2 separate regions of the Homo sapiens genome follow, and region 2 is linked to region 1. The links are contacts of gene promoters, found by promoter capture Hi-C in human tissues and cell types (Jung and others, 2019). All regions are on one chromosome and are shown on one strand. The core of a region is centred on a gene start or on the middle of the fragment in contact, and the rest is flanking DNA. Distances in the headings are between cores, read along the strand shown.

What was found. Contacts are between HindIII fragments. The study calls those that stand out against the background at their distance.
Region 2: a contact is called between a fragment that was not itself captured here and the fragment with the promoter of LRTM2 in region 1, in 4 of the 25 tissues and cell types used here (IMR-90 fibroblasts, dorsolateral prefrontal cortex, mesenchymal stem cells and 1 more).

The regions. Positions count from the first base shown.
Region 1 is chr12:1,819,104-1,825,110 of GRCh38, forward strand. LRTM2 (leucine rich repeat transmembrane protein 2) reads left to right here and starts at 1,462. Exons shown (of 5, transcript NM_001039029.3): 1 at 1,462-1,711. All of the region lies in intron 26 of CACNA2D4 (calcium voltage-gated channel auxiliary subunit alpha2delta 4), which reads right to left. RefSeq lists an enhancer at 1,032-1,778. The HindIII fragment of the contact is 8,239 bases long and covers 1-4,349 here.
Region 2 is chr12:2,252,419-2,258,200 of GRCh38, forward strand. All of the region lies in intron 3 of CACNA1C (calcium voltage-gated channel subunit alpha1 C), which reads left to right. Among named protein-coding and RNA genes, the nearest start is that of CACNA1C-IT3, 14 kb to the right of the region's middle. RefSeq lists enhancers at 3,023-3,524, 3,525-4,024. The HindIII fragment of the contact is 3,079 bases long and covers 1,714-4,792 here.

The DNA of each region.
Region 1 (6,007 bases), core at 212-2,711:
GGCCAGTCCTGTGGTGTTCCGGGGAAACGTCACCTTGCAGGGGGCGTTTAAGGAAGGGGGAAGCCACCCATGGGCAGGAGAGCATTTCAGGCCCAGGGAAGAACACGCTTTCATGGAGATGGAGAAGCAGGAAGTATGTTTATGGGGAGGTGGGAGCCTCTTTTGCTTGACAGTGGGATGTGTGGGAGGCACCAGCATGAGAGGTCAGAGGCGGGACTCCCCAGAGGTAAAAGACACTGCAGCTCAAGCCTTGTGCTGCCCGGGGACCCGGCAGAACGGACAGAAGGGAGTGAGCAGGAGCATCCTTCTAGGGGCATCCTGAGTCCAGGGGGTTCTTCTACACCCACCCCAGTCCTGGCTGTGAACCCCTCCAGCAAAGCAGGCAAAATGGAAGAGGGACATAGGACACGGTGATATATCGCTAGCACGGTGCTTCATCTGTCTACAGGCAGTGGACGCAAAGGAAGGGGGATTTAGGGTTCGTGCTCCAGGCTGGTGGGGCCCTGGCTCCCCTCTAGCTTGGTCCCTGACTCACTTGGCCTTCAGATCAGCCACTTCCCATCTCTTAGGATATCAATTTTTCTGACTTGCTTTGTCCTGATTGGTTAAGAAAGAGGCCTCCAAGTTCTTGAATGACAGTCTCTTCCCTTCGCATGCCTGACCCATCACAGATAAGAGCAAGGAGCCCTGAGAAGCCAAGCTCGTCCCTGGCACTGAGAACGGTCTGCAGGCTGCTGCTGCAGGCTGCCCTGTGCCCAAACTCCCAGCCTGCCAACTCTGGCATTCTGCTTCCCTAAGTAGTCCTGGCGTCGGGTGGTCAGACCCTGAGGCTCAGTGACCTCTGCATGACCATGTGATCCCTGGCTTTGTGGGGGCTCAGGGCCCTTTCCTGTAGGGTCATCTGGCACATGGACATGCCTGTGTACCCTTCTTTCGTATGACCGAGAGAAGGGTTCGGTTTTTCCTTCTCTCAGGCAGGATGGGAGACTCTGCCTCGCATGTCTCTAAAACAGGAGAAAGACCAGCTTCCCAGGGGGGCCTCCATCGGAACAGAAGTCAGCCGCTTGCTCTGTGTCTGCGCCTGTCCCTCTTTCCCCAGATGGAGGGGAAGAGAGGAGAGAGGCACAGAAGACAGGTGCAGCCGGGGGGGTGAGGGAGAGCCTGGAGGCGCAGGATGGAAGATGGAGGTGGTGGTGAAACCGCTTTCCTCCTCCCTGTGGTCGGCAGCGATTCATCCACAGGCGCCTTTTTCCACTGAAATGTGAGCGTGGCCAGGGTGAGCGCTGCCCTCGCGGCCGGCCGTGGTGCCTCTGGTGTGCGCCTGTGTGTGCTGCTGCCGCTGTCATCACAGATGCACCCCAGCTGTCACTCCCCGCTCCACTCTGGCTCGCTGCTCGCGCACACGCGTGCGCTCTCCTCCCTCGCCCCTTTCTTCCCTCTCTCCTCTCTCTCTCTCCCTCCATCCCTCTCTTTCCTTCTCAGTTTGTGACTGACCCAGCAGCCCCGTCCCCCGTCTGCCACAAGCAGTCCACCTCCTGGTGCTGTGTGCTGCGTGCCAGCCGCTGCTCCCGCTGAGTGGAGACTCTGGCACCAGTGCCCACTGCGCTCTGCCTGCCGGTGGTGTCTGGATTTCTATAGGAATCCCAGGAGGGTCTTACTGGAGGGTTGAGAGCCACCTGATTGAAGGCGTTTGCAGTCAGAGTAAAGACGGGTGAGTACCGAGTGGCTGGTAGGAAGGAATGGAGGGTTGGTGGGGACAGGGGGTGGTCGGGGCATGGGAAGTGGGCACCGGCCATCTCTGCCCTGCAGGAATAGCTGCAGTTGCTTCCTACCTGCAGGCAATTGCTGGGGCCGAAGAAGCTGCTCGGGCTCAGGCACCTGAGCATCCCAAAGGTGCACGACACTGGGAACTCTGAGCCCACAGTGCTGGGGACAAGAGCTGTGGATTCTGCTGGGAAGTGGGGAGGAGGGCAGCGCTGGCGCCAGATGACAGTCCCGGGTGGCATAGAAACCGGTCCCTGCAGCATGGGAGAAGCAGCCAAGAGCCTTGTGCTGTCGTTGTGCCCGGCTCTGCACAGACAGCCCCAAGAAACTCGGGGGTCATGGGAAGCGGTTGGGATGGCAGTCAGGTGCTGGGGACAGGGCCAGGTCAGAGGAAGGCTTGGGGTGGAGGGTGGCAGGGAGGAGGTCCTGGATGTCAGAGGCATGGGCACAGACCCAGGTCCTGGGCCTCCCTATAGCTTGCCTGCAGGTGGCTGTCCTTGGACAAGGGTGTGGAGGAACCCTCCCCCAGATGAGCATGGGCCCACTCAGCTGTGCATGAAGCCTCCCTGGTGAGGGTGAGGCTGGGAGTGGGCAGGAGAGAGAAGTATCGCAGCCCTTCCCTGCTAGCCCAAGGGCAAGACAGGAGAACCAGGCCCGCGAGAACCTGCTGGGGTGTCCCGCAGCTGTGCACCCAGCCGTCCATCTGCAAATGGGTCAGGGAGCCTTAGTGGGGGCTGGACACTGAGCTTGGGTGGGGGGTACACAGCGGGGCCAGGCCTGCCTGGCTTCTTGACCCACACAGGGGGCATGGACACCCTGAGTAGAGCGGGACAGTTGCTCTCAATCCCCCAGACCCATTTGGACAGTGCTGGAGAGAGGAGCAGCCTGACCAGGAGTCGGAAGTTCACATTCCTGCACCTCCCTGCAGGTCTGGGGCTGGGTTCCAGTTGGCGGCCCTGTCTCTCCCCCACCCCCAAGCTGTCCACATTTCTGGGGGGTGTTGGCACCCGGCTGTCAGGGCTACTTGGGCAGTGTCTCTTTGTGACTCAGATGACACCCCTGCAGCTTAGATAACTGCCTCAGGTGGGGGCGGGGAGGGAGCCGAGCACGTGGAGCTGAGGCGGGGGAAGTCCAGCTGGTAGGGAAACCCGACAGCAGCTTCCGAGCTGCCAAGAAGAGCCCAGCTTTTCCCACCCCCACCTCCCCACCGGCAGAAAGAAAGTCTCAGCACTGCCAAAAGAGGGAGACCAGGAAAGCCAGGCCCGCGGGGAGGGGTAAGGAGAGAGGCTGCTTAAGCAGCCGATCTGGTGTCTTTGGGGTTTGACAGAAGCTTGTCTGGGCCCACGAGGAGCAAACTCTGCTCCCGTTTCCCAGGCACCAGAGCCCAGGGGCCGCCTCTGGGCTGCTATGGCCTCAGTGGGCAGTGTAGGAAGGAGGAGGGGATGGCATGTATGTGATGGTTGGGGGTGTCTGGGAGTTCTGGGGGTGGGCAGAGGAGAAAGGAGCCAGCATAGAGGCTGTCTGCCCCTCTGGTCTTCCTCCTTTTTCCCCCAGCCAAGCCTCCTGTGCCCTGCCTGGGAATACCACCCTGAGCCCAGCCCCAGGGACACCACCCTGAGCCCGGCCCCAGGGCCCAGTGGACACCTTAGCCTCCTTCATGTCAGGGACCAGCTCCCATGAGGGGCCACTCAGGAGGCTTCTCTGTTCTGCTTCCCAGAGGGTCTGTTTGAGATTGAGAATATTTGACAAGGAAACGGGGGTGCAGGAGGCTGGGGGTGAGGATGGGGCATGTGTTTTAAAATGAACCAGGAGGGTATATGGCTGTTCCAAGTACAAATATAGAGATTTTTAAAACCTGGTTCCTTGCTGCCTGGGCAGTGTGTGTGATGGGGGTGATGGGCAGCTGTCCTAGAGGGCCTGGGTGCCCAGACAGGCAGCGGTAGGCGGAGCCCAGCCTAGACGGCTGTGGCAGCCTCCCCTGCGTCCTGGCCACATGGAATCTCGGGCCGTCTTTGGCCCGGGGCTCTGGCTGGCCACTCTCCGGGCTCCCTCTCAGCCTTCCTGGGGTTGGTGGAAGGGCACGGCCCCTGCAGGCCCAGGGTGTGGGCCCAGTCGTGGCTCTGCTTCTCTCTGGCCTTCTGCAGAGTGAAGGGGGCGGCAGAGTAGGCTGCAAATGCCCCCTTTACCCCTGAGTTCTGTGACTCTTCCATGCTGAGGGGTATGGACTCTTGACCAAGGGGAGATGCCAGGGGAGTGGGCACACCCTAGGGCTAGTGTGATGGCCCAGGAGTCAGGAATTCAGAGGTGGAGGCCCGATGGGCATTATCTGGCTGTGTGTCTTGGATGCTTGATGTGGAGGGATAGACATGCGCAGAAGCCTGAGAGGAAGGGTGCGGACACCAGGTCTGTGGTGAGTGTGCTGGAGGTTTCTAGCTAGAGTCTGAGACTGATTAATTAACCTCCATCTGAGGAGAAATGGAAGGGGCAGGTGCATGGAGCGGTCCAGGCTCCTGCCGTCCCAACCTAGCTCTCTGCAGTGAGTGAGTGCGTGCGGCTGTTCCGTGCTCTGAGGGGGCCGAGTGGGGTGCTAGCAGGGAGGCAGCTCCCACTCCCAGTCTCCTGGGGTGGCTACAGCCCACTCAGCTCCGCATGTGGAACCCCCTGCTCCTACTGGGGCCTCCTGCTCCCCCATGGCCTCCCCAGCCTTGGCTCCCCCAGAACAGAGCTCCGGCCTACTCCCCTCACCTCAGCACACAACCCCCAGCCAGAAAGGTTTCTAGAAAGCCCCCCACCTTCCGTAAGATCTTGGCCTCCCAGGACTTCAAGAAGAGAGGCTGGGAAGAGGAGAACCTGTCTTGCTTGCATCTCAGTCCAGCAAGTCACAAAGCCTGTTCCTTCATCAGGGCAATGGGGACAAAAACAGCTGCCTTCTCAGCTCCAGCGGGAGTGGATCAGGCAATGCCGTGGACACTGCAGAGGACCATTCAGAGGAAAGGCGGCATCTTCCTTTCCTACCTCTGCCTTTCCTGTACAAGTAACCCCCACGTGTAAGCAGACAGACAACTGAGTTAGGAGCCAGAGAGCTCGGGCTCAGAGCCATATGATTCCATTTGCCTAACTTTAGGTGAGTTATTTCATTTCTGGTGCCTCAGTTTCCCCCATCTGCAAAATGATAGTAACAAGAACACTAACCTCAGAGAGTTGTTACAAGGATTCAGAAAACTACACAGGTTTGTGACTGTGGTAATTTTTTTCTCCCCAGGTCCCAGTTAGCTTCTCAGTGGGTCCTGGAGGCTCAGGGACAGGCCAGCATGGTCTCCTCGGTGGCCGTTTGCCCTGCTGAGAGGTGCCCGGCCTAGTCGTATCAAACTCAAATATGCATGAAAATCCCCTGGGGATCTTGTTAAAATGCGGATTCTGACTCAGTCATTCTGGATGGGCCCTGAGACTACCTTCCTACAAGGCTCCCAAGCTAGACCAATGCCGCTGGTCCATGGACCACACTTTGAGTTGCAATGGTCTACACTCAAAGCCCCATGTTTCTGGCCCTCCAGAGTTCCTCATTTGACTGCTTTGAGCTCTTCAGCCCCATTCTCCAATCCTGGCTCTCTCTGGAAGGGAGGCCAGGGACTCCGTGGAGGCCTGGCCCCTTATCTTTGGCCTCCCTGTCTCTAGGACTGGGTTAGGAGCAGGCCCAGCATCCAGAGTGGATGAGGCCATGGGACTTGCAGACAGGAGATCTCGCTGTCCCCCATGCTGCACCCTGGGTAGGGACTTCCCTCCCAGACTGTGAATTCATTTCAGCAGCTGTCAGTGCCTGCTGCGGCAGCTGCTCTCCAAGCTTCCCAATGTAGGTCACCCCCTTTCCTTAAGGAGGCTCCACTCTTCTGGGGGTGGGAAGGGTCCTTTGGATGGAGGCGTGTTGGTAGGCAGAGGCTAAGGAACTAGGGAGTGCTGGCTGCAGCCCCACCTCTCTCTAGGAGTCCCTCTGTGGTGCCACACACATATGACTGGTGTTCCCTGCAAGCTGCGCTATTTTTCCTGCTCTTGGGAAGGCCCTGGTGTCCAGGAGGAAGCCCAAGGGACCCAGGGAGGCAGGATTAGCTGCTAAGAGAGCACAGGGCATATCCGCATGAACCTGGGGGCCTTGTTTTCATCACATTTCTCTAAACAATACCAGGATCAACAGTGTCCTGCCACCTTGCAAGACAACACCTGTGGGTCTGCATTGTGGGGACTTGCC
Region 2 (5,782 bases), core at 2,003-4,502, 440 kb after region 1:
CAGTGTAGAAAGAGGACCCTCTGGGAGGCCAACGTGCTGAGTGGAAGGTGGAAGGACATGGAAAGCAGCAACCGTGCAGCTGAGGCTAAGAAGCCCCGGAGCAGGCTTGGGGGCTTCTTGTGTGAGTCATCATTTGTCCTCCACTGTCTATCAAGAAGCAGGGACAAGAGTTATGCACTTTAAATGTCAAGGTTGCCTTTGTAGGTGGTAGAGGCCTGGTGGGTTCCAGGAGATTATTCAGGTTCTATGTAGAGCAAATTCCAGATCAGATGAAGGTGTTTGTGCGGGGACAGCTGTATGTTTTCTGTTACAGACCTGTTAGGTCAAACCCCTTCTTTCTTTTTTCTAAGCTCTTACTCTTCCCCAGTTTTTACTTCCCAAGACTTTCTTGGGTCCTTCCAAGTCCTCCTTAGAGGATGGCACTTTGCTGGGTCCATGGGTTTAACTTTTTTTTTTTTTTTCAGTCTTTCCCATACATTCGAGTTAGCTTGAAAGTGTTGATGGCCCTCTCCCGCAAAAGGAATATCATTTACTCCCTACCCCTTGTGTTACATGGGCAGGGGAAGGAGGGAGTTTCTAGCTCATGTTCCCGGAAGGGAAGGTATGGCAGGAACACATCCCACTTTTCCCTGTCTCTTTATGCCCTTGTCCCCAGGGGAGAAGTGACCTATCTGACTGGTGAGTTTGGTGTAGCCCCTTCTGGGACTCTCTTTTGAATCCACTTATCCCCAAAGAAGGGTTCACCAAGTTATTGGGACTGATCTGGCCCTGTGGGGAAAACCTGTGATGGTCTCACCTTCTGGCAGGGTAAGTACATTTAATAGTGGTTGAAATATTAGGAAGTCCTTCGAAGCCCGTCTAAGCCACTTCCTCCATTTTATAATTTGTTTCTAATCAAGCTTTTGGTTTGATTTAATCTGTGTGTCCTATATCTTACTTCTTAATTGGTTCTGAGTTTATAAGGGGCAGAAAGGATGATTATTTATTGGCTGCCACCCAAAGGCTTAGAACTCCTCCTTGGTCATTGACTGATCCATGTGGAAGGCTCTCCAAGCAGCTCTGGGTACAGTGGAGGCCAAACATATGTGCATACTTTTCCCCACCAGGGTACTATTTGCAAGTCATTGGAACCTAAGTCCGTGGCTTCTGTTTTCTAAGAACATCTGCTGTGGAAATGCTATTCTTTTCCTCTTTCTTCATCCCTGAAATAATGATACCTTCCTCGCAGGAGGGTGTTGAGGATTAAATAAAATCAAGCACATTCACACACGTAGGTAGTCAGTAAATGTCAGTTTCTGCCTCTCCGTCCATCCACTGGTAACCTACATTGTTTAAGTAGCGCTTACCACTATTCATTCTGATGTCCAAAGTATGCCTCTCATGTTGCAATGGAAGATTTCTTCTATCTCATTGGGAGCACTTAATAACCTTTAATACATGATGTGAAAACCTTCTGTCTCACATGCCTGATTTATGGGATCACTGGAGAGAGAAAACTTTGAAACCAACAGGGAAGTAAGGGATGCGTACTGAGTGGGAGAAGCAACAGTACTGGGATCCAGGGGAGGGCTGGATGGGAAGGGCTCAGTCATGGATAGGACTGAGGGTGTGCTGGTGAGCCTGGAAGCCATCACTGGGTGACCAACCTCACCTGGGCACTTCTTAGTTTGGATGTGCCTTATTTAAAGTAAAACTTGACACAGTCCAGAAAAACTCGCAATGCAAAAACAACTCACTTTTCTGGAGCTTTACTGTGTGTGCCCAGCACTGTGCTCACCACTCGAGAGCCCCTAGGCAGGCACCCTCCCTCCAGTTGTTCTCAGGGAGTGGGGTGGAGAGTATCAGTACAGAGGAGAGCCTCAAACGACCCCAGACTCTGTCTGTCAGTATGCTTCTGGAGGATGTAGGCTGAGTCTTATCTTCTCAACCGCCAGTTGTCTGTAGTGGCCCTTCCATTTCATGTCTTCCTTAGACACATACTCCAGTCTGTTGTTTTGAGTGTTGGCTGTGAACTCTGTAACCCTGTATTTTCTGTTTTCCTCTTAGTATGAGAACGAAGGTGTGGGCCCGGATTGCCCCATTACTCTTGTGTCCTGTGCACCTTTTGTATCGTGCTGCGGCAAACTGGCACAGGGGATGTCAGCTCCGCACCCTCTGCTGTGGATTGTCCAGGGTCCAGGCTTCCCCTTCCTACTGCTCACCCCTGTCCCCTTTGCTGTTAACACCTGCCCGTGGGATAAGGGAAAAGAAAAAAGCCACTCAAACTACTCCATTGTGAGATTTGCTATGGAGTCAGGGCTGAAGTGGGGTTGGTTGACTTGCAGAATCTGTGAATGGGGGACGATATATGTTGAGAAAGTGCCTGGGTGATTCTGATACGTCCCATCTACACTTTGAGAACTACAGGTTCATTACCACTGCCAAGAAAAAGATCTTTTCATATCCCCCCGTCCTCTCTTCACTTGGATGGCAGTTGAGTCTCTGAAAGAGATTCATCCCGAAGGTCTTTTAAGTGAAGAGAGGCAAAGCTTAGCTTAGTATTTCCTTTCTGAAGAGCACATACCCCTGTGTAAAATTGAGGAGCAACAGCCTTAAATGGAAGCAGCTGTGATTCCCCGCCCCTGTGAAGGGGCTGTGGCCCTGCAGATGCCACGGCTGTGGATGCGTAGAGCTTGGGTACCCTCCCTGGCTTCATGGCTGACCTGCTGTGTGACCTTGGGCAAGTCAGATTTCCTCTCTGTTTGCCATCTGCAAAATATGGATACAGACCCGTGCTCCCTCCTGGTTTTACTGAGGTACTGTGAGAGCCAGTGAAATCACGGTTATGGGATGCTCAGCATTCTGCTGCAGAAAAAAAAAAAAAAAAAACCTAGTTACTAGGAAAGCACCATTCCCCAGGTGTGGGAGTTCTCAGTACCTGTGTGGAGTTTGCTAACAGACCTGGGGTCATTCGGGGTGTGACAGGCAGGCCCTCTCTCCTAGATCCAGGTCCATTTACTAATGTCCTTGCCCATCCATGCCTGCAAGAAGGAAGAGATGTCTGAACTGCCAGGAGGTGGTGGCTACAGATGGTCCCTGGCACAGCAAGAAGGCAGTGCCAATCAAAGGAGGTCGGCCTCTTCAATTAGAACTCTGAGCAGATGGGGCTGAGGCAGCCAGAAGGGGCACTTCCCAGTTTACTAAGTGTGTGACAGTAAGCTGGTGGCCTTCAGAAGACCAGGAGGGTCACCTGGTTCATTTCCTTTCTGGAAGGAAGGGCAGTGTTTAGGATAAGTCAGATGAGATTCCTCCTCATTGGACAGATAATAAGCTTTATTGTGAGTTAAGCAATATGCTTGGCCCTACGGATATCACATTAAACAAAATAGACCTGACCCTGACCTTACTAGTTTACAATCACACGATCCTGACCTTACTAGTTTACAATCACAGGATCCTGACCTGACTAGTTTACAATCACACGACCCTGACCTGACTAGTTTACAATCACACGACCCTGACCTTACTAGTTTACAACCACACGACCCTGACCTGACTAGTTTACAATCACACGACCCTGACCTGACTAGTTTACAATCACACGACCCTGACCTGACTAGTTTACAATCACACGATCCTGACCTGACTACTTTACAATCACACGATCCTGACCTTACTAGTTTACAATCACACCTCCTGTTTCTTGCCACTTGCACACAACTCAGGGATGGGGTAGGAGGAGGAATATCATAAATGCAAATTCCTGTGCCTTACACTGGAGCTACTAGATCAGACTACCTGGAGGCTAAGCCCAGGAATCTACATTTTTAACAAGCTTCATAGTTCAGCCTTGCACATATTAAATTTTGAGAACTGGTTACTTCTCCATCAATGCATGGGGTAATCAGTCACCTTGGGCACATTGGTGTCTTAAAAATGACTTAAACACATAATTGGAACTGTTTTGCTAAGTCTAGCCTGTGTCTACGTTGCTAGAAAAGCCCTTTTTCCCCTTATTCTGATGGTATAGAAGAAAACAACTGCTTAAATCAAATGAATTAATGTGTTGATTGAGCTTTCATTACCTGTCTAGCTTCATGCTGTTTGGAAAATAAATATAAAAGCTATAATCCTGGCCCCTGATGAGCGTACAGGGTTCTTGAGTTGATAAAACACACCAGTTAACCAGTTAGAGATGACGAGAAGATGGTGCAAGATTAAGAGCCAGGACGTAAAGCAGATGGCGCGTTTCCAGGGGTAGAGAAATGAGGACATCGGCAGGTCAGCATTGCAGCCACATCCTTTCTAGCCATCCTCAGATTCCAGCCTAATGATCAGTTGTAAACTCCTAAAGAACTTAAAAAAAATCCTGGAAAAATTCAGGAGATTCAGGGTGTAGTATAGGAATCTGTTTGATTAAAACACTCCACAGGTGATTCTGATGGGTGTTTCCAGGTTTGGAAACCAGCATGCTACCTTTTAAAATAGTAAATGGATTAGTTATCTCTTTTTTAGAGGGGGCATGAGAACAACAGTTCCTTTATCCATTCTTCTATTACACCAGATATGTTACAGTTGCACTCAAAAATCGTGGTGACTCAACACAACAGAATGTAAACCCAATCAGGACGGGGGTGGCTCTGCTCCATATTGTAGGGGACCAGGGCTTTGCTGTCTTCGTTGGTGGCTTTCCAGGCCTCCCTGGGTGTTAACATCCAGCACTCAGACAGTCACAGAGGAATGAACACAGTTGTTTGTAATGGCGGCCAAGATCGTCCAGGCCCGGAAGTTGTGACTATCACTTTCACTGACATTTCACTGGCCAGAAGTCAGCCATGGGCCACACCTGTCTCCAAAGGAGGTTGAGAAATGTAGTCCAGCTGAGTACCCTGGAGGACGGGACCAGGCTGTGGTGGGACAGTTCAGTCTTCTCTAGCACAGCGGTCTCCAACCTTTTTGGCACCAGGAATCAGTTTCGTGGAAGACAATTTTTCCATGGAGGACCGAGAGGGGATGGTTTTGGGATGAAATTGTTCCACTTCAGATCATCAGGCATTAGATTCTCATCAGGAGCATGCAACCTAGATCCCCAGCATGCACAGTTCACAATAGGGTTTGCTCCCATGAGAATCTAATGCTGCTGCTGATCTGACAGGAGCTGGAGCTCAGGCTGTAATGCTGGCTTGCCCACCGCTCATCTCCTGCTGTGCAGCCTGGTTCCTAACAGGCCATGGACCGGTACCTGGGGGCTGGGGACCCCCGCTCTAGCGTGTTCCCTTCCTCTCCAAGTCTTTAAGCATTTTCATTGATCTCTTCTCCTCCAGATTCTCCCAGGTTCTCAAGCAGTGAGGTTCCAAACTAAGGTTTAACTCTCTAGTCTTCAGAATGTTCTTTTCTAACTGTTAGAACTGCAAAGACAGCCTTGAAATGGTATATTCTTTATACCTGTTGCCTCCACTTCACTTGGTCTTACTGTTAGGTTTAACCTTAGGAAATCACTGATATTTTTTGACCTACAGAAGCGGCATTTTCATACAAGTGAATGCTACACTCTCAACTTGATTGAAGAGCACCCTCAATCTGCCTTCAGCACGTGCACTCCCACTCTGCAGTAGGCAGAGGTTTGAGAACCAAGCCAAAGGAAAGAGAAGAGGGAGGCAGAGTTTCTTTGTACTACATCTCATCACCTGCTGTGTTTGGGGTCTGCCCTGTCCCACCATAGTAAAGCTCATATCCCACCTCTTCCTGAAACCTTAATAATGACATCTTATTTCTGGTTATTTGCCAGAAGCTTTCACACACA